Linked DNA regions of Homo sapiens: all the other regions are linked to region 2. The links are contacts of gene promoters, found by promoter capture Hi-C in blood cells and fetal thymus (Javierre and others, 2016). All regions are on one chromosome and are shown on one strand. Each heading gives the region's core, a stretch centred on a gene start or on the middle of the fragment in contact. The rest is flanking DNA. Distances are from core to core; before and after follow the strand shown. Region 1 has its middle 3.1 kb from the start of LINC00658. Region 2 holds the start of TRMT6 (tRNA methyltransferase 6 non-catalytic subunit). Region 3 overlaps LOC107985411 (a long non-coding RNA gene). Region 4 overlaps GPCPD1 (glycerophosphocholine phosphodiesterase 1). Region 5 overlaps LINC00654 (long intergenic non-protein coding RNA 654). Region 6 has its middle 29 kb from the start of LINC01729. Region 7 has its middle 9.6 kb from the start of LINC01729.

Evidence for each region. Contacts are between HindIII fragments. The CHiCAGO score rates a contact against its expected background, and 5 or more counts as called.
Region 1: a contact is called between a fragment that was not itself captured here and the fragment with the promoter of TRMT6 in region 2, in 1 of 17 cell types (M0 macrophages). The highest score is 5.1, in M0 macrophages.
Region 3: a contact is called between a fragment that was not itself captured here and the fragment with the promoter of TRMT6 in region 2, in 1 of 17 cell types (M1 macrophages). The highest score is 5.2, in M1 macrophages.
Region 4: a fragment that was not itself captured here is called in contact with the fragment with the promoter of TRMT6 in region 2 in 17 of 17 cell types (naive CD4 T cells, fetal thymus, naive B cells and 14 more); the score reaches 31.6 in naive CD4 T cells.
Region 5: a contact is called between a fragment that was not itself captured here and the fragment with the promoter of TRMT6 in region 2, in 4 of 17 cell types (erythroblasts, fetal thymus, M0 macrophages and 1 more). The highest score is 7.9, in erythroblasts.
Region 6: a fragment that was not itself captured here is called in contact with the fragment with the promoter of TRMT6 in region 2 in 17 of 17 cell types (naive CD4 T cells, fetal thymus, naive B cells and 14 more); the score reaches 35.2 in naive CD4 T cells.
Region 7: a fragment that was not itself captured here is called in contact with the fragment with the promoter of TRMT6 in region 2 in 16 of 17 cell types (M0 macrophages, endothelial precursors, M1 macrophages and 13 more); the score reaches 16.3 in M0 macrophages.

Annotation. Positions count from the first base shown.
Region 1 is chr20:5,447,385-5,450,377 of GRCh38, forward strand. No RefSeq gene overlaps it. Among named protein-coding and RNA genes, the nearest start is that of LINC00658, 3.1 kb to the left of the region's middle. The HindIII fragment of the contact is 1,590 bases long and covers 726-2,315 here.
Region 2 is chr20:5,949,229-5,951,928 of GRCh38, forward strand. It overlaps TRMT6 (tRNA methyltransferase 6 non-catalytic subunit), which reads right to left and starts at 1,305. Exons shown (of 11, transcript NM_015939.5): 1 at 1,050-1,305. The coding sequence starts at 1,177. It overlaps MCM8 (minichromosome maintenance 8 homologous recombination repair factor), which reads left to right and starts at 1,424. Exons shown (of 19, transcript NM_032485.6): 1 at 1,424-1,795. RefSeq lists an enhancer at 1,301-1,440. The HindIII fragment of the contact is 3,685 bases long and covers 1-2,700 here.
Region 3 is chr20:5,464,173-5,467,070 of GRCh38, forward strand. LOC107985411 (a long non-coding RNA gene) reads right to left here. Exons shown (of 3, transcript XR_001754485.1): 2 at 615-757. Among named protein-coding and RNA genes, the nearest start is that of LINC00658, 20 kb to the left of the region's middle. The HindIII fragment of the contact is 3,015 bases long and covers 131-2,898 here.
Region 4 is chr20:5,554,385-5,557,455 of GRCh38, forward strand. The region is part of intron 19 of GPCPD1 (glycerophosphocholine phosphodiesterase 1); the gene reads right to left. Among named protein-coding and RNA genes, the nearest start is that of LINC01729, 46 kb to the left of the region's middle. The HindIII fragment of the contact is 2,865 bases long and covers 1-2,860 here.
Region 5 is chr20:5,496,803-5,499,502 of GRCh38, forward strand. It overlaps LINC00654 (long intergenic non-protein coding RNA 654), which reads right to left. Exons shown (of 2, transcript NR_015406.2): 2 at 1-2,700. The region is part of intron 2 of LOC124904863 (a long non-coding RNA gene); the gene reads left to right. Among named protein-coding and RNA genes, the nearest start is that of LINC00654, 6.4 kb to the right of the region's middle. The HindIII fragment of the contact is 3,038 bases long and covers 1-2,700 here.
Region 6 is chr20:5,537,956-5,540,655 of GRCh38, forward strand. No RefSeq gene overlaps it. Among named protein-coding and RNA genes, the nearest start is that of LINC01729, 29 kb to the left of the region's middle. The HindIII fragment of the contact is 8,068 bases long and covers 1-2,700 here.
Region 7 is chr20:5,518,142-5,521,131 of GRCh38, forward strand. No RefSeq gene overlaps it. Among named protein-coding and RNA genes, the nearest start is that of LINC01729, 9.6 kb to the left of the region's middle. The HindIII fragment of the contact is 1,268 bases long and covers 997-2,264 here.

The DNA of each region.
Region 1 (2,993 bases), core at 271-2,770, 500 kb before region 2:
GGCTGGTTAGAGCAGGTCCCTCCTCCAAGAGCAGATCTCCCTCCCTTAGTATTATCTCACCCCTCCGGGCCTGGGAAACCTAAAGATACTTTGTGAACGCATGTCTGTATCTACAGAAAGCTCTGCTAGTTAAAGAAACTACCCTAGACCAAGCTGCGCTCTAAGGGGCTGGTGAGCTCTGTTATTTTTAAAATTACTTTAAATATTTTTTCTTTTTAATTAAAATAATGAGTCAAACATAGGGAGGATTACAGAAAATAATTTGGAACCAATCAGATTTATCTGAGGTGACCTTTTGCCACAGATGCTTGAAGTCCATCCATCTCTCTTATGAAATGAAATGTTACAGAAACAGCTCATTCTCTCCCTCCTCACTACTCCTTGCCTCCCTCCCAAGGCTACTTCCATCCTGAGTAGTGCTTTCTTCAGTTGCATGTTGATCTACTGTTATATACAAGAATGAGTTACAAGTCATATGCCATCAGCTTTGCATTTTGCAAGAATTTTCACAAATATTATGCTATCGCATGTACAGACTTTAGGCTCACTGCTGAACAATGCCCTGGGCTTCTTTCATTTTTCTGCATGTCTCACTCCTCTGGCTATGCCTGTTTGGGCTGGGAGAGAATACAGGGAATGTCCAAGATATTAGCAGTTCCTATGGCAGCAAGTGCTGGTTTCTGTGACTGTGGTTCCCTAAGAGAGGCAGAAAAGCAAGGGGACTAAGCTTCCACTGTGCACTTAATCGCAGGGCCATAGCCCAAGTAGGTTGTAAAGGCCGATGACATCCCAAGACAGGCTGGAACTTGAACTGACATTTTACAGAGGAAAACCAGGCCCAGAAAAGAGAATGGTTGCTTTAATGTCACACTTCCAGAAATTGGTAAAGCAGGAACCATCTCAGAGCTTATGACACCTTTGTACTAAACACATTGCCTTTAGGCAGTCTTATTCTTCATCCAGTAAACAGCAGACCATGGATTTGATTGTTTTCTTTCTTTTCTTTTCTTTTCTTTTCTTTTCTTTTTTTTTTTTTTTTGAGACGGGAGTCTTGCTTTGTCGCCCAGGCTGGTGTGCAGTGGCGCAAACTTGGATTTGATTGTTTTCTTGCCTCTGCTCCCCTGAGGAAAATGCCAGCAAACTATAAAATTTCATTCCCTGAGATCCTGGCAAGCTACATTGGACTTAGGTGTCTGCTGTTTCTGGGAGGCAGCAAGGATCTGAGTTTGGGGGAAGATCAGGTCACCGGGCTGAAGAGTAGCCCGAAGATCTTTTTTACCTGGATCGCCCTCTGGTGGCAGATTCGATAACAACCGCTCTAATTCATCATCTGAAATGCAAAGTGGTTGCAGCTCAAGTTTTCCTTGCTCCTCTTGGGACTTGCTCGTTCCTCATTAAAGCATCCCTATGCCCACTCTATACAAGACACATTTACTTTGAGCTGCATCCCTGAGATAATCGACTCCAAGCCAATATTTCTGTGTGTCAGTCACAGTAACTGGAGCTGTGGCATGGAAAATAAGAAGAAAGCATTGTTCCTGACCCCAAGGAATTTAAGTTAACTGGGTGAGACAGGCATACAGGCAGCTGACCAGACTCGGAGTCAGTGTGACCGAGAATGGACAGGCTGGGGGAATGCAGAGGGAGGAGGCCTTGGTGGGGAAGCTAGTGTCTGAGTTCTCAAGGAGCAATGGGAATTCTGAAGTTGGAGAGGGGCAGGGACACTGGAGGAGGGGAGGACAGGGCATGGCCCCTTCCTCCCTCCCTGTTTCCCCTTCTCCTTGGGGCCTTGCTCTCTTTCTCTTCCTCTTTACTCACCCCAGTACCAATAGCCCTACAATTCATGACCACCCGAAGCGTCCATTTTCTGGGAGAAGATTGGGCTCCTTAGCCTCTTCCTACAGACCTTTCTCTCTGAGTCTTCCCATGGGTCCTTCTGACATCTGAATAGAATGACCAAGGCATAAATCTCAATCATCGAGGTTTATTAAGTCAGCTTGAGGGTGCTTCCGGGAAAAATACAAGCCACAGGTACATCTGTGGCTGTTTTTCTCAAGAGAGTTTCAGGGGATTTAGTATTTACACATTTCCTTAAATGGGGGAAAGGCTTTTAGGAAAAAGGGCAGACAGGTGGTAAGGCGAATGGCTACATTCCTGTGAGACTCTAGCTGCTGCCTGGTAAATCTACATTTTACATAAGACAAATTGGATGTTTGAAAATAAAAAGAGAGTAAAGGAAGAGTCAAGTATGCAGATGTCTCTGGGTAGGTATAGGAATGAGTCTTGTCTTTATTCTGCACCTGCACTTCTATCTAAGCTTGCGATCAACATTATCAGCATGGAATCAACTTTAATTTTAGGAGCTAGGCTGGGCACGGTGGCTCACGCCTGTAATCCCAGCACTTTGGGAGGCCAAGGCGGGCAGATCACTTGGGGTCAGGAACTCGAGACCAGCCTGGATGAAATGGTGAAACTCCATCTCTACTAAAAATACAAAAATTAAGGCCGGGTACAATGGCTCATGCCTGTAATCCCAGCACTTTGGGAGGTCAAGGCAAGTGGATCACCTAAGGTCAGGAGTTCGAGACCAGCCTGACCAACATGGTGAAACCCTATCTCTACTAAAAATACAACAATTAGCTGGGTGTGGTGGCGCATGCCTGTCCAAGCTACTCAGGAGGCTGAGACAGGATAATCGCTTGAACCCAGGAGGCGGAGGTTGCAGTGAGCTGAGATCACGCCATTGCACTCCAGCCCAGGCAATAAGAATGAAATTCCTTCTCAAAAAAAAAAAAAAAAAAAAAATTAGCCAGGCATGGTGGCATGCACCTGTAATCTCAGCTACTTGGAAGGCTGAGGCAGGAGAATCGCATGAACCCAGGGGGCAGAGGTTGCAGTGAGCCGAGATCGCATCACTGCATTCCAGCCTGGGTGACAGAATGAGAGTTAGTCTCAAAAAAAAAAAAAAAAGAAATTAAGAACTAGACTTAGTT
Region 2 (2,700 bases), core at 55-2,554:
GATGGTGCCAGAGTCCCAGCCACTAGGGAGGCTGAGGCAGGAGAATCGCTTGAACCTCGGAGGCAGAGGCTGCAATGAGCCGAGATTGCACTACTGCCCTAAAGCCTGGGTGACAAAGCAAGACTCCGTCTCAAAAACAAAAACACTGTGGTTGTATTTCTCAGATAAATTAATCCAAATATCCCAATAAATTTTCACCATTAATAAGCTCTTAGGACTTAACAACCTCACCAGCCCTTCCAGAAAGTTATCAAAATCCCACTTCTTTACTTCTATAAAACAGAGCGATACTAGCCAGCAGGTGCACAAACCAAACCTAATTTGGAGTTCTGAGGCCTTGAGCAAATTGCTTTTTAGCAATTTTCCCAGCGTTGAATCCTTTGGTGAGTAAAACGAGGGAAACTCAAAGTGATTCCACACTCTGTGGTGAATTGTCTCCTTCATCTATTCTGTGTATCCTGCTTGGGTAGAGAAGAGGATAGAAAGCCAGACTAGGTAGGAGACGTTTCATTTTTTGTGGGATAGATCCTGACTGGGGGATTAGGGAAGAAGGAGGATCTATGGTGGAAAAAAAGGGGGAACCTGAAGGAGACTCTGGAGACAAGGATGAGATCCTAAAGTGAAGAAAGGAGGGGGTGTCTCTGGAAAGACAGTGAAGATCCCAAGGTCCTAGGGAAAGAACTTCAGGACAGGTGATTAGGGTGTGGAGAGGGAGGCATTGGCACCCTAGGGCCAAGAATGGAATTCTGGGGAAGGAACTCTGTGGAAAGACTGAAAAGGATGCTGAAGGTGGACGGCCAGATATGAAATCATGGAGGGGGCTCCGGGAAAAACAGGAGGGTTAAGGGAGATTATGAGGTTCGAAGACGGGATCCTGGTGGAAAAGCCTTCTGTGACAGAAAGACCCGAGGAGACAACGAGGGCGGGGAATGGGGACCGAGAGAGCCAAGAATGGCACCCTGGCGGAAGAATTCTGTGGAGAAACCTGGAGGGAGGGGGTATCTACAAGGTGGGGGCGGGAGACCCCTAAAATCAGCGATCTGACTTACTTTCTCCGCTGGACTTGTACTGCTTTAAACACATCTTCACGTTTCAGCACCACGAAGTCGCCGTCGCGGATGCGGTGGTCTCCGGGATGCTGTGGTTGTGGGCCCGGCTGCTCCCCTGAGCCCTCCATGACGCTCAGCCGGTCGCCGTGCTCCACGGCGTCCCGCCCCTCCTCCTCGGTTGTCGCCACCGCCAGCCTCACTTCCCACAACCTGGCGCACTAGGAGCCCTCCGACCGGCACCGCCCCCACGTGTTGCACGCCGCTTCCGCTTTCCGGCCCAGACCTCAAGACCGCTTCCGGAAGCCTCTCGGCTTCCGTCTGGCCAAACTCCTTGATTGGCTGCACTCCGCCCCGCCCCTCTCGTCTTGCCGCTTCTTTGAGCGGAAGTTGGATCACTGAAGCGCCAAAAAAGAATTTAGGGGAAGACCTGATTTTCGCTTGAGGCATTTTTGCGGCGCTGTGCGCTACAGACACCTTCTGGAAGCTGCGGTGGGGAAACTGAGTTTCCCGAGCCGTTGAGACAGATGGGGTTCAGCACCGCGCGGGGACGACAGGAAAGCTGCGGCTGAAGAGAACTGCGGACTTGGCAGGAGTCGCCTGAGGAGCTAAGATCCCGGAGACTCTTAGCCCCGTGGTGCTTCTCTACGGGAGGGAGGGAGGGAGAATCCGGCCGGACAGATCTGCGCGTATCCTGGAGCCGGCCCAGTTGTGAACTAGGAGAGCTTTGGGACCTCTGTCCCAAGCAAGTAAGAACTTTAGCCTTAGGAGATGTAAATAAAGTAGTATTTGAAGAAGCACAGGTACCCAACTGTTTCTTTTTACTCTTTCTCCAGTCCTACTTCTTAACGTTTTTTTGAATTTGTTACTGTTCTCAGCATATTGTCTCGTTTGAGAAGGGTATGGCACGCAGCGTTGTTGAAGGAGCGCCTCAGCTTGGGAGGCTGAAAGTTTTATCTCTGTACTGTCGACAAACAACTTTGATCTTGATCGGTTTGCTTAATTTCTTTGAGCATCAGTTTCATAATGTGTAATGCCTAATTATTGGAGCCCTGTCATGCCGTTAAATCGTGAACTTTCTAGTTACTATCTTGTTTTATTAACTAAACCCCTTTTAAGTAAGGATTTGGGTAGAGTATTTGATAATGAATTGCACTGCAGCGTACAGGTATATCTTTATTTACTTGTATACTTAGGATATGAATCATTTTTAAGTAGACGTGTATTTTATAAGAACAGTTTTGGATTTACAGAAAAACTGCACAAAAAATGGATGTGACACTGCAGGATTGACTGTATGTAAGAAGCTATGATGATGTATCCCTAGTGTCTCACAGGCCAGAATTATGTTCATCCTGTCCTGCCCTATAATAAGAAGTCTCAAATACTGCAAATAAGTTTTCATAGAGTTAATTACCTGTCCTATTTTCATTTCTGTAATGGGGACTTGTAAACAGGTACAGTACCTGTCCTTATTTTTAACCTGTGAGCGTCTAGTATACGTAAACCATATTTAATAGTTATTAAACTATTATGGTATACCTTAAAAAGCGATAGAGATTAGAAACTTAACTGCAGAATATTTGGGTCTTGTATCATAGCTGTACAACTTTGCAAGCCTGTTTGCTACTCTTGAACCTAGAATACATTAATT
Region 3 (2,898 bases), core at 388-2,887, 480 kb before region 2:
TCATATTTGACAAGGCTTTCTCTAGGATTTTAACATACCAAATAAACCCAATACGTCTCTCTTGGACTTTCAGGGACATTAATATCTAAAAGGTTAGTTTAAGGTCAAAAAGACTAAATTTAGAACTTGAAGCTTTGATTTTGAAAAGTTTGTCTAATATCAAAGGTTCAAAACACTTGATATCATAAAATAGGATGACAGATTACTGTAAACTAAGTCATTCACTTAGCCAAAGTGATAATTCACAAATTTACACTTCCCATTGCCCACCCCTCATGCCTTCCACCCTGAGATTTAACAATAGTGATGGTGGCAGGAGGCAGACAGGTACCTAGGTGGGAAGGGGTGGGTCCCTGGTGAGGCCCAACCTTCAAACCAGGGATGGCCTGAAGCCTGGAGGCCAAGCTGCCAGTTCCAGGTGGAGTCCCTGACTGGGAGTAAGAATTTCCTTGATGCCTTTCAGCCAGTTGATGGTGACTGGTTTTTTGGACCTACCCTTGAACCAATCAGCATGCACTTCCTCCCACTCATGGACCAATCAGCATGCACTTCCTCCATTCTGCACCTATAATAACCCCTAGACTCAGCAGGACTCAGACACACATTGGGATTACCTTCCTGCAGGTAGGAGCTACCCACTTTGGGTCTCCTCTCTGCTGAGAGCTGTTCTGTTGCTCAATAAAGCTCTTCTCCATCCTCACCCTCCAGTTGCCTGAGTAACCTCATTCTTCCTGGACTTGCGATAACAACTCAGGACCTGCGAACAGAGTGCACAAAAAGGGCTGTAACACTTTCCTGGCCAGCTCACTGAGCTGCAGGTCGTGATATGCTTCCCTGTTCACCAAACTGTGGGAGTGAAGAGTGGTGACCCTTCTGGGGACGCAGACCTCAGAATTCCCAAGCCAGAGCTGTAACACTATAGCCCTCCCGCCCTCCACCAGTGCTGGGCGGCTGCCAGATGTGACAGGAAGCAGTGGCGGGGCAGGCCAGCCCAGGAGCTGTGGGCTGGAGTTGGGGTGATGGGATTGAACAAGCCGTAACACAAATGGGCTGAAACACATTGCCTCCCACCGCTGTTTGCCATGCTGTCGCGCTGCGGGTGGTGGGAATGAGAGAGCTGTAACATGCACCCCCAACCCGTAGAGGATCTGCAGTTGCTGGCATCTCCAGGTTTTCAGGAGCCACCACATTCCCTTCATCCAGATGCTGGCAACTGCAGGAGAAGCCGCTTGTAGTATGCCTGCTCCAGCCGCAGCCTTGCATGGAGCCAGTGCCTATGCCGGTGCCTGGAGCCGTCCGCCCTGCTGCGGCAGTTGGCGTGCCTGGCTGTGTGCAGGGGCCACACTCCGCACTTGCTCACTCACACACCCTTCGCCTTTCTGCATCTGGCTTGCCCTCGGCAGGCATGGGATCTGGGCTGGTAGTGCAAGCTGGGCACAGCCTGCCAGGCTGAATGGGTGGAATGAACCCAGTGGGCGTGAGCAATATTCAAGTAGAGGCGCTGCCGGCCATGAGGTTTCTAGCTGGTGAAGCGACACCCAGAGGATCCTGTGACAATAGGATTTCTGAAATCTGCATTGGCTTGTGTACAATTTGGGCACTGTATGAGTCAATTGGGGGAAACAGTTTTTGAACAGGAGCTGCAGGGAATTAGAAAAATCTAAGGCAGACTGACAGAAAAGTCTTCAAAGGGAGACAAAAACAGGCTTTTCCTACTGATGAAATGGGACCTACTGTCGATGACTGCTACAGAGTTACTCTAGAAGAATTCAGAGGAAGATGTGAGGAGTTCACTCTGGAGCCACAGTGGCCGGTAGAGGCTGGAAAGAAGAGAGAAAGGAACTTACTGTCATTGCAATGACAATGACAATAAGATCTGAGCAAGAAGGACAGTAGGGAGAAGCTGGGAACAAAGACAGGAGGGCTTGGGATGTGCTTAAAGGAGAACACTTGGTTTATTTTCCCTGGGTTGGAGGGCTTAGGTATATTTTTGTCTTATAAGGTCCACAGTTAGATTTTCTTAAGGCACAGGGGAGCCATTGAGGGTTAGGGAGCTGGAGAGTGGTGTGATGAAAGGTATGTTTGCATAGCTTCTATAAGTAAATGTTTCTTTCCACTGGTTTCAGTGACAAGGCACCAGCTCTCCCGATACTGTGGTTCCCGCAGGAGTCCCCTATGCCTATGTAGGCACCACCCACTGTGACAGGAGATGCCCTTCCTGCCCACAGTGTCTGCCTGCATTTTGAGACTTTCTGCTTCCCCAGGGTGAGTGAGGAAGCTGGCAACAAGCCTCACTCAACGAGAGGAAACTTGAGGCCAGCTGGGCACTTGAGGGAAGGAGACCAGCAGTGGAACACAAGTCGGGGTCCCAGGATCCCTGGGCTTTACCTGACACTTCCACATTCCAACTGTGGGGTCCATAAGCAAGCCCTGCACCTTCTCAGTCTCAAGATCCACTGACAGCCATGCCATCCTCTCCCTGTCACCAAAGCAGTCTGGCCTTCCAGCTGGCCTCCAGATGCAAAGGCAGAGTCTGATGGAGACTTGGTGTCCTGAGAACTCCAGAATGGGCTGTCAGTGCTCTAATTTTTCAGGTATGTCTATTCCCATAATTTGAAAACAGTGATAACAATAATAATACCATCTATGGGGCACTTTCTACATGCAAGGCACTCCACTAAGCCCGTTAAGAATGCTATTTCAATCCTTATGATACACGTATGGTGTAGGAACCGTGATGCCACTTTTGTGGCTGAGGAAGCTGAGAGTAATAAAAGTTAATGGACTTGTCCAAAAGAATTCTTCTAACTCTAGAATTCAAACCCTCAATTCATGTGGCAGTAATTCTAAAGGGTCACCCATTGCATTTGCATGTCAGCCCCATCCTGTGAAAGTACA
Region 4 (3,071 bases), core at 178-2,677, 390 kb before region 2:
CAAATAACAGGCTGCTTCTCTTGTTAGGGGCTAATACAACTGATGATGAGTTTAAGTTGAAGCCAATACTCATTTAACACTCTGGAAATTGTAGGGCCCTTCAGAATTACGCTAAATCTACTTTGTCTGTGCTCCAGAAATGCAACAAAGTCTGGATGACAACACATCTGTACACAGCATGGTTTACTGAATATTTTAAGCCCATAGTTGAGACGTACGGCTCAGGAAGAAAAAATATTACTGATCATTGACAATGCACCTGGTCACCCAAGAACTCTAACAGAGATTGCTGCTTTCATACCTGTTAACACAAAATCCATTCTGCAGCCCATGGATCAAGGAGTCACTTTGACTTTCAAGTCTTATTACCTTAGAAATACATTTCAAAGACTGTAGCTGCCACAGACAGTGATTCCTCTGAAGGATCTTGGCAAGGTAAACTGAAAACTTTTTATCATTCCAGATACCATTAAGAACATTTCTGATTCATGGGACAAGATCAAAATATCAACATTAACAGGCATTTGGAAGAAGCTGATATCAATCCTCATAGATGCCAGAGGGGTTCAAACCTTCAGTGGAAGAAGTCACTGCAGATGTGGTGGAAATAGAAAGAGACCTAGAAATAGAAGTGGAACCTAAAGATGTGACTGAATTGCTGCAATCTCATGATAAAACTTTAACAGACGAGGAGTTGCTTCTTATGGATGAGGAAAGAAAATGGTTTTTTGAGACAAATCCACCCAACAAAGATGCTCTGAACATTGTTTAAATGACAACAAGAGATTCAGAATATTACATAAACTTAGTGAATAAAGCAGCAGCAGGGTTTGAGAAGATGGACTCCAATTTAAAGATGTACTTACTACTGTGGGGCAGGGAGTGGTGGCCACCTGTAATCCCAGCACTTTGGGAGGTAAAGGCAGGCAGATCACCTGAGGTCAGCAATTCAAGAACAGCCTAGGCCAATATGGTGAAACCCTGTCTCTACCAAAAATACAAAAATTAGCTGGATGTGGTTGTGCATGCCTGCAGTCCCAGCTACTCGGGAGGCTGAGGCAGGAGAATCACTTGAACCTGGGAGGCGGAGGTTGCAGTGAGCCGAGATTGTGCCATTGCACTGCAGCCTGGGCGACAGAGCGAGACTCAATCTCAAAAAAATAATAATAAAATAAAAATAAAGATGTTTTGGCAGGGCGCGGTGGCTCACACCTGTAATCCCACAGCACTTTGGGAGGCCAAGGCGGGTGGATCACTTGGGGTCGGGAGTTCAAGAACCTGGCCAACATGGCAAAACCTCTTCTCTAGTAAAAATACAAAAATTAGCCAGGCATGGTGGCAGGCGTGCGCCTGTAATCCCAGCTACCCAGGAGGCAGAAGAATCGCTTGAACCCAGGAGATGGAGGTTGCAGTGAGCCAAGATCATGCCATTGCACTCCAGCCAGGGTATTAAGAGTGAGACTCTGTCTCAAAAAGCAAAAACAAATAAAAAAGATGTTTTACTGTGGGTGAAAAATGCTCTTAAACACCATCATGTGCAACAGAGAAATATTGTGTAAAAGGAAGAGTCCACGGGTACAGCAGACTTCATTTGTGTCTTATTTTAAGAAACTGCCACAGCCACCTCAACCTTCAGCAACCACCACCCTAATCAGTCAGCAGCCATCAACATCAAAGCAAGACCCTCCAGCAGCAAAATGATTATGATTTGCTGAAGGTAGATTGTTAGCATTTCCTAGTAATAACGTATTTTAAAATTAAGATATATACTGTGTTTTCTCAGACACAACGCTACTGTACACTTGGTAAACTACAATGTAGTATAAACATAACTTTTTTTTTAGACAGAGTCTCACTCTGTCACCCAGACTGGAGTGCAGTGGCGCGATCTCGGCTCACTGCAACCTCTGCCTCCTGGGTTCAAGTGATTCTCCTGCCTCAGCCCCGAGCAGCTAGGATTACAGGCATGTGCCACCACACCCGGCTAATTTTTGTATTTTTAGTAGAGACAGGGTTTCACCATGTTGGTCAGGCTGGTCTCAAACTCCTGATCTCATGATCTGCCCGCCTCAGCCTCCCAAGGTGCTGGGATTACAGGCGTGAGCCACTGCGCCCGGCCTAAACATAACATTTATATGCACTCGGAACCAAAAGATTTAGGACTTGCTTTGCTGTGGTGGTCTGGATCCCAGCCTTCACTATCGCTGAGGTACACCTGTATGAGCAAGTCTGCTAATCCCTCAGCAGAGTAAATGACATCCCTTCTAACCCCAAATATCTTTATACTAAAGAAACCTTTTTGACTCTCAGATTAGTGGCTGCCAAAGAAGCTGATGGAAAAAAAAATATTTGTTCAATAAATTATTTGACTCCCTACTGGATGCCCCACATTGTTCTAACCTCAATAGCAATGAACAAATCAGGCAAACAGCCTTGCCCTCCTCATGGAGCCTATATTCTCATTTGCATGTGTGCATTAGTGCCCAGGAGGATGGAGGAAAGGGGCTAGGGAGAAAAACAAGTAAAATGTAACACAGAATATGTGGTGTGTCAGATGATGATAAATGATATGGAGACAAGTCAGGGAGTGCACTGTGAATAGAAGTTGTTATTTGAAATCAGTTATTCAAGAAAGTCCTCACTGAGGTGACATTTAAATTGTTACGGAAGTCTTTCTCCAAAGAATGGGAAACAGCAGATGGGGGAATTTTGTGGAAGGTCAGAGAGGGAAAGAGGGTTGAAGGTGGTGGGGTGGCAGATTGGCTCATATAGGGCCCTCAGGCTTCAGCTTTTCCTTTAGGTGACACAGAAAACTGTGGGAGAGTTTTAAGTAGCAACATGATCAGACATAGGTCTTAAAAGCTTCCCTCTCACTACTGTACTAAGAATAAACAGCCTGACCGTTAAGGGTAGAGGCAGTCACCAGGGGGCAGGCTACCTCAACAATCCACACCAAAGATGAGCTGCTTTACTTGAGTGACAACAGTTAACTTGGTGAGTAGTCTGATTCAGGATATATTTTGAAGACAGAACAAAAAGATTTTCTATCTGACTGGATTTGGGGTATGAGA
Region 5 (2,700 bases), core at 144-2,643, 450 kb before region 2:
TAAACAGGATCTCAAAGATTCTCCCCTCCTCATCCATCAGATGCCCCAGGCTGGAGGGTGGCCCCAGAAGAACACTTTCTAGCCCCTGCCTCCCTCCCCCCATCCACCCCCATCTATTCAGCATCCCTCAGAAAACATCCCAAGTTTGTAGCAGAAAACAGAAGTGTAAATCAGAAAAGGTAACATTCACACTTCACACCTTCATGTAGAAGCCCAGCAAGCTCTTGAACCCAGAGCCGGGATGCCTTCCAGAGCCGGCTGCTGCCAAGACCCTGACAGAAGGCAGTAGAGGGAGGGGGCCTGCTCAGAAGCTCAAGCATCTGATCCTCCATTACAAAACACCTGCTAGTGCTGCATAGCTGGGATTTCCATGACGACTGAAGACAAGACTGCCACCTTGTCTACTCCTGCCATGGCCACAGTGGTCTTCAATGTAATGTTGCCATCCAAGTGGTAGCCCAGATGTGCTGGATGTGACTAGCAGGAACGTGTGCAAAACATAGCCCTTAGCAGGGCCCAGCCTTACTAAGAGGTCATGTATGCTCTGGGCAAGGCCAGGCTGGCTCTATGGTCTGCAACTGTCAGCCTCACTACAGGGGCAGCAGGAACTGAGAGAAGAAGGGTTGAAGTCTCTGTTCCTCAGCTCCTCTGAGAAGCAGACGCCAAGAGCAGATTAAACTGCAAGGGTTTTAGGAAGGAACATAACATTGTGAAAATTATGAAGGACTGGGTGAGCCATCAGACCTTAAAGCAAGTATCAGCCCTAGTGGGAAACAGAGGGGAAGAGGATGGGCGGGACTGCACAGAACTGTATTCTAAGGAAAATCCATGGTGCCTTTAGGGAGTCTTTGAAACAGCCAGCAAATAAGTTCTGGGCGTGCCAGCAGCAAGTTGGCCTTAGCACCCCCACCACACTCGGTCATCAGAGGAGAGCTGCCACGGGATGCCCATACCAGGTGGACACCTGGAGGGAGCAGCCCCGCCTGGAGGAGGTCAGGCACACAGAGTCCTAGGCACTGAGGTTGGGCACCACGGATGGAAGTGCAGCTGAGAGAACCCTGAGGTTCCTGGGCTCCCTGGGGCCCAAGCCAGGACGAGCAGGTGAACACACACAGAAGGAACTAAAAGACCTCCTTGCTGGTGGGGTTGTCCTAGAAGGGGGCAGGCGGGTGGGACCCAGAACCTCCTGCAAGAAACCAGAATACCATCTGTGGGGCTCAGAGATTGGTTGGTTTTAAGAAAGAGGCTCCTTTCTACTTATTTTAAAAATCAAAATTATACATTCACAGGTAACAAATGGTCAAATAACACCTAAGAGGCTTTACTTCAGAAAACAGCAACTGTCCCCCTTCTTTGCCATTTGCTCTCTTTGATCTGAGTCACAAGGACCTTCTCCAGTGCTATCTCCCTCTCCCAGAGTGATGGCCACCCACTCTGTTACCTGAGCTTTGTATGATTGCTTCATTGGCAATTTTTTGCAACAATTTGGTAGTAATTTGACAGTTAACCTGTTCTTCCAGGTGTATGGCATCTCATAACAGAGTAAATTAGATTCTCATATGTTTCCAATTTTCTTAAGAATCAATATTCCTTATGTTAAAGCCCTGATAAAATACATGTTTGAGTTCCTTGGGAGTGTCCCTGCCACGGTGTTTGGGCCGTGATTCAAACAGAGAGATCCCACATTTATGCAGGGGTCTGCCCTGTTCTCACCTGAACTTCTAGCACCATTCTCTCCTCTGGCGACCCCTAGCTCTGCTTGATGGGGGCATATGAACATCAGGAGTCTCCAAATCATGCTTATATTCTTCGAACATAAACTTGGACCCAAATCCACCCCCATTCCCCTTGGCATTGCTGCCAAGCTCCCAACACTTGAAGGCCCTGAACTCCTTGCTGAACAGCCCTAGTCTGACTTCAATCCACTCTCCACTCCCAGAGTCTGGCCCCCTCCCCTCAGGCCTCAATTTTCTCCTGATTCTATTGATCACATCTGGACATTTGGCACAGAATAGGATGAGAGGGGACATGGCAGTAATGGGAGAGATGGCAGGTGAGGTTTCTTTACCATCACCATGGACGCCTCAGGCCATGTGCACTGGGTGGGGCTTTGGAGGTGAGGAGGTCAGAGAGTTCTTCTTAGGCCCTGGGTTCATCTCAGCTCACTGGAACCCTCAGACATTAGGAATCCCTGGGAGGTAGCGGTGTCATTGAGCCCCATTTCAAGGGCTTACCACACTCCCAGCTCTGTGTGATATTGACAAGTTCACCCTCTCTGAGCTCCAATTTTTGTTTTTACTCTTTAAAGTGTGGGACATCTCTTTATTCCCGAGTGAACAGCAGAAAATGAGATGGAGTGAGAGCCGAAAGAAGGCAAGGAATATTCCTGAGATTGTTCTCAAGGAGATGGGGATGTCCGTGGATGAATCACAAAGGGAGGAAATGGGTGCAAAGGTCTCACTGAGATCCAATGACAGCAGAAGCTGCCAGTCTAAGATCTGGACCAGATTTGAAGTTTTAGGGGAGCCTATATGACAGCATTTTGTTTCTACTGGCATAACTTCATACATGAACAATGTCATAGCACTCAAAAATGGGTTTAGGAGAGGCCTAAAAATATGCCACAAAATTCAAGAAGCTAAAATACTATCAGATTATTTTTTAAAGACACAATCAATCAGAAAACTTTAGAAAACGCCA
Region 6 (2,700 bases), core at 49-2,548, 410 kb before region 2:
ATACCTTCCTTGCTTTCGACATGATAAGCGGTCCAGTGCTCACCTCATTCATGCCCTGCCCTAGACCTGTGAAAATCTATTTTCCTGCTGGTCCAGAGTGACTCATGTGCCATTCCACAGCCTCCCTGTTCGTTGGACTTATTTGGGTCACCGTTGCTGGCAAAGAGCTGTGGTCATTAGAAGTTGGTTTTATTAGGCCGGGCACAGTGGCTCACACCTGTAATCCCAGCACTTTGGGAGGCTGAGGCAGGTGGATCACAAGGTCAGGAGTTCAAGATCAGCCTGGCCAACATGATGAAACCCTGTCTCTACCAAAAAATACAAAAATTAGCCGGGTGTGGTGGCATGCGTCTATGATCCCAGCTACTCGGGAGGCTGAGGCAGGAGAACTGCTTGAACCCCAGAGGTGGAGGTTGCAGTGAGCTGAGATCGCGCCATTGCACTCCAACCTGGGGAACAAGAGCAAGAGCAAGACTCCATTTGAAAAAAAAAAAAAACTTGGTTTTATTGGCCATGCATGGTGACTCACGCCTGTAATCCCAGCACTTTGGGAGGCTGAGGCAGGAGGATCGCTTGAGCCCAGGAGTTCCAGACCAGACTGGGTAATATGGCAAAACTCCATCGCTACAAAAATTTTTCTAAAATCAGCTGGGCATGGTGGCATGCACCTGCAGTTGCAGCTACTTAGGAGGCTGAGGCAGGAGGATGGCTTGAGCCCCCGGCACCAAGGCTGCAGTGAACCGTGATCATGCCACTGCAGTCCAGCCTGGGTGACTGAGTGAGATCCTGTCTGAGAGAGAGAGAGAGATTGAGAGACTGATGCTCAAACAGAGATTCACACAGGTGGAGGCAGGATTCCAATGCATTGCATGTTGCGGCTGTTGAGCTTCATGAGGGGGTAACCACGTGCTCACCACTGAGCCTCCAGTGCCTAGCCATGACTTGGTGAAATTCTGTCTAGTAGGTATCTCTGCGTTATGTAAAATCATGAGCAATTCCTGTACCCCAAATAGTGCCCCACAGGGAAACTGGGAACTAAACAATACAAGCTATAGCACTTCCCTGCCCATACTTGAGCTAGTCCAGTACAGGATTCACTGCCAGAGTCACAGCAAAGGAGTCATAGCGTCTGCATTTTTGCCATCAATAGTCATTGGCTTCCTTATTTCCTAATGTTTCCCAAACTTAAAAATGATTAGTTACAAGAGGTATAAACATTTTGGGGACTCCTCTTTGAGCCAAAGTCATCTCACTAAGACTCTACCAATGTGCTAGTGGAGTTGTTGGTCCAGACTCCACACACTTTGGTGACAACCATGAAATGCTTTCAGAGGGGAAGGTGGGTGGCACGCACCTGTAGTCCCAGCTAGGCATGGTGGCATGCGCCGTAGTCCCAGCTACTTGCGGGGCTGAGGTGGGAGGACTGTCCAACACATGGACATTGGGGAATCTTCCAAGACGCACCTACAAATTCCCAGAAGGGACCAGCTGGGAATTTATGTGCCATGTGCATCTCTGGGATATTTCCTAAAAGAAGAGAGGCTGAGGCATGGTGCACAAATTCTGTATCTCTGGCAGAGTCCTCCACATGAAACTGCCTTTGCAAAATTAGACAGAGAAATCTAACATAGCTGACTTCATCCTTCCTCTAACCTCCAAGCTGTTCTTGGTCATTTCTGGGCATAAGCCAGACTAACTTTGGGAGACATTTAGTTTATAGTTTAACCTTAGACTACCATAGCCCTTCCCAAAACTAAATCACCTTTGTAAAACTAATGAAAGGCCGCAAGGTTAGGAGAATGAGAAGGGCCCGAATTCTGCTAGGATGGAGGCGTAAAGGAAAAACAGCCATTGTTCCGGAGGTCACAAGATTTGCAACTTCCCCAATCTCTCTTGTAGATAACATCACTATTGTAGAACCTAAGATTGGTCTTTTGAGGTGTCTATTCAGACTTCTGCACTTCTGACAATTGGCTAACTCCACCCAGACTCATGACTCATGACTAAGCAGTCCTCTGGGACCCCCACTCAGAGGCAAACCATTTTCCATGCCCCTGTGATAGCATCCCCAACCAATTAGTAGCATTCCCTAGTCCCCTGCCCACCAAACTATACTTGAAAACCGCTAAACTCAAAGCCTTCACAGGGATCAGTTTGAGTAATAACTCCATCTCCTGTGTGGTGGTGGGTCTTGCATCAATTAAACTCTTCACTGTAATGCCATGGTCTCAGTGAATTGATTTTGTCTGTGCAATGGGGAGGACAAGCCCATCAGGCAATTACAGAAACATGCTGGGAGCCTAGGCACCTCTGCGTCTGCTATCCACATGGCCACTTCCTTCTAACACCAAGCCTGGGATATCTTCATCACACTCATTCCCCAAACCTTGGCCCTTTTCTCATGGAACAACCTTGCTGAAAGTCAGTGGAGACAGACTCTCACTACTATCTCAACTAGAGACACTAGTTGACACAAGAAACTGTGCTTCTAAAGATCACTTATAAAGTTGGTTTCTAGGAACTTGGAGACCATTTACCCATTGGGTATGTTTTTTTTTTTTTTTTTTTTTTTTTTCCTGAGATGGAGTCTCACTGTATTGCTCAGGCTGGAGTGCAGTGGCATGATCTTGGCTCACTACAACATCTGCCTCCCAGGTTCAAGAGGTTCTCCTGTCTCAGCTTCCCGAGTAGCTGGGATTA
Region 7 (2,990 bases), core at 381-2,880, 430 kb before region 2:
ATCCAGAATCTACAATGAACTCAAACAAATTAACAAGAAAAAATCAAACAATCCCATCAATAAGTGGGCAAAGGATATGAACAGACGCTTCTCAAAAGAAGACATTTATGCAGCCAACAGACACATGAAAAAATGCTCATCATCACTGGCCATCAGAGAAATGCAAATCAAAACCACAATGAGATACCATCTCACACCAGTTAGAATGGCGATCATTAAAAAGTCAGGAAACAACAGGTGCTGGTGAGGATGTGGAGAAATAGGAATGCTTTTACACTGTTGGTGGGACTGTAAACTAGTTCAACCATTATGGAAGACAGTGTGGCGATTCCTCAAGGATCTAGAACTAGAAATACCATTTGACCCAGCCATCCCATTACTGGGCATATACCCAAAGGATTATAAATCATGCTGCCATAAAGACACATGCACATGTATGTTTATTGCAGCACTATTCACAATAGCAAAGACTTGGAACCAACCCAGATGTCCATCAATGATAGACTGGATTAAGAAAATGTGGCACATATACACCATGGAATACTATGCAGCCATAAAAAGGATGAGTTCATGGCCTTTTTAGGGACATGGATGAAGCAAGAAACCATCATTCTGAGCAAACTATCGCAAAGACAGAAAACCAAACGCTGCATGTTGTCACTCATAGGTGGGAATTGAACAATGAGAACACTTGGACACAGGGTGGGGAACATCACACACTGGGGCCTGTCGTGGGGTAGGGGGATGGGGGAGATAACATTAGGAGATATACCTAATGTAAATGATGAGTTAACGGGTACAGCACACCAACATGGCACATGTATACATTTGTAACAAACCTGCACATTGTGCACATGTACCCTAGAACTTAAAGTATAATAAAAAAATAAATAAAAAAGAAAACCTCTTATGTCTTAAAGTTATAAGACAGGATAGAATTGGATTGGTATACACTATACCACATAAGCATCTGAGACCTGGGCCAGGTTTCACTGAAGCTTTAGGGGAGCCTTTTATGGTAGCATTTTTAAATTTTGGCACATTCCATAAATAGAAAATACCAAGTAGCTCAAAAATGGGTTTAACAGGCAGGCACAGTGGCTCATGCCTGTAATCCCAGCACTTTGGGAGGCCAAGGCAAGAAGATCACCTGAGGTCAGGAGTTTAAGACCAGCCTTACCAACATGGAGAAACCACATCTCTACTAAAAATACAAAAATTAACCAGGCATGGTGCCACATGCCTATAATTCCAGCTACTTGGGAGGCTGAAGCAGGAGAATTGCTTGAACCCAGGAAGCAGAGGTTTCAGTGAGCCAAGATCACGCCATTGCACTCCAGACTGGGTAACAAGAGTGAAACTCCATCTCAAATACATAAGTAAATAAATAAATAAATAAAAGGTGATTTTACAATCAGCTATAGGACTCCAACACATGCTCTTAAATGCAGGTTTCCAATAACTTTGGAGATTGTGACATTAGAATAGAAGAAAAAAACTTTCAGGACTCTCATGGAGAGCTAAATGTTCATGAATATGAAGCAGAACAGGAGTTAACTACATGAACTGAACTAATGGAAGACTAAAATAATCCTTTTATGACTTTTTGCTTAAAGAATTACTAACCCTTTGTTTTGTTTTTTGAAGCCAAGACAACTTTTCTGAGCTATTTACAGCTTTTAAAAATTGAGTAAAGAATACTCCTGTAAACAAAATTTGGAGTATATTTCTCTCTACTGGATTTCTCCAAAATGTGGAAACTATTTGTATTCTTAATTTATAGCAATATAGTTATCTGCATAAGTGCAATGTGAATCTGTTTTCTTTTTTAACAGGACACAATTGGAGACACTGGTTATTTTACCAAGGCTTTGACTGGAATGGTTTTCTTTGAGATACAAACAGACTCCTTTAAGGAATCAAAGTTGACTTATAGAGCCAATAAAAACCCCTTGAGAAAACTGGCCTCATACCTAGTCTATACAGTTCCTGTACAGGGTTCCTAACCTGTGATAAGTAAAGAATATCAGTTCCTAGCAGGCCCGGAAGGCCCAAGTTATATTAGGACCTCAGGAGGAGAGAAATTTACTCAACTCATACAGGTATGTGATGGCAAAAAACCATGGCTGGGCTCAAGGCTTTAAAGTCTTATCTGAGGTTCCTCATGGAATAATGTTTCATCAAAGCCAATATAAAAAGGAGCCTATATGGCAAACAGTTATTCTTGCTGTGCTTTATGCAAATAATCAGTATAAAAAGACTAAAGCTTATTTTGCAAACAAATCAGTCCTATCGTGGTCTGTTTTTAATAAAAATGAGGACTGGAGAGAGGAAAATTATGTTTTAAGAACTATGGGGCCGGGTGCGGTGGCTCACGTCTGTTATCCTAGCACTTTGGGAGGCTGAGGCAGGCAGATAACCTGAGGTTGGGAGTTGGAGACCAGCCTGACCAACACGGAGAAACCCCATCTCTACTAAAAATGCAAAAAATTAGCCAGGCATGGTGGCACGTGCCTGTAATCCCGGCTACTTGGGAGGCTGAGACAGGAGAATCACTTGAACCTGGGGGAGCAGAGTTTGCAGTGAGCTGAGATCACGCCATTGCACTCCAGCCTGGGCAACAAGAGTGAAACTCCATCTCAAAACAAAACAAAACAAAAAACTATGACTATGGTACACCTGTTATTAGATTCTAGTCTCATCAATTGTTTTTGAGGGTTTTTTTCTGCAATTTAGACTGATCCTGCTTACTTCTGTGAACCAACCAGTGATCTCTGGCTACAGCTCAGATGAAATAAGAGGCATGGGTAATGTAAAAATCTGGATCAATATTCTAATTCCGGGCACATATTGGAATCAGCTAGCAACCCCAGGCACCCAAGTCTTACCAGGTATGACAATAGCCATGAGCTACCTGGGCATGTTGGCAGCCTCAGGATTTTTTGAAGCTGTCCTCACCGACTTATTTCATTTGGACATCTCTACTTGTC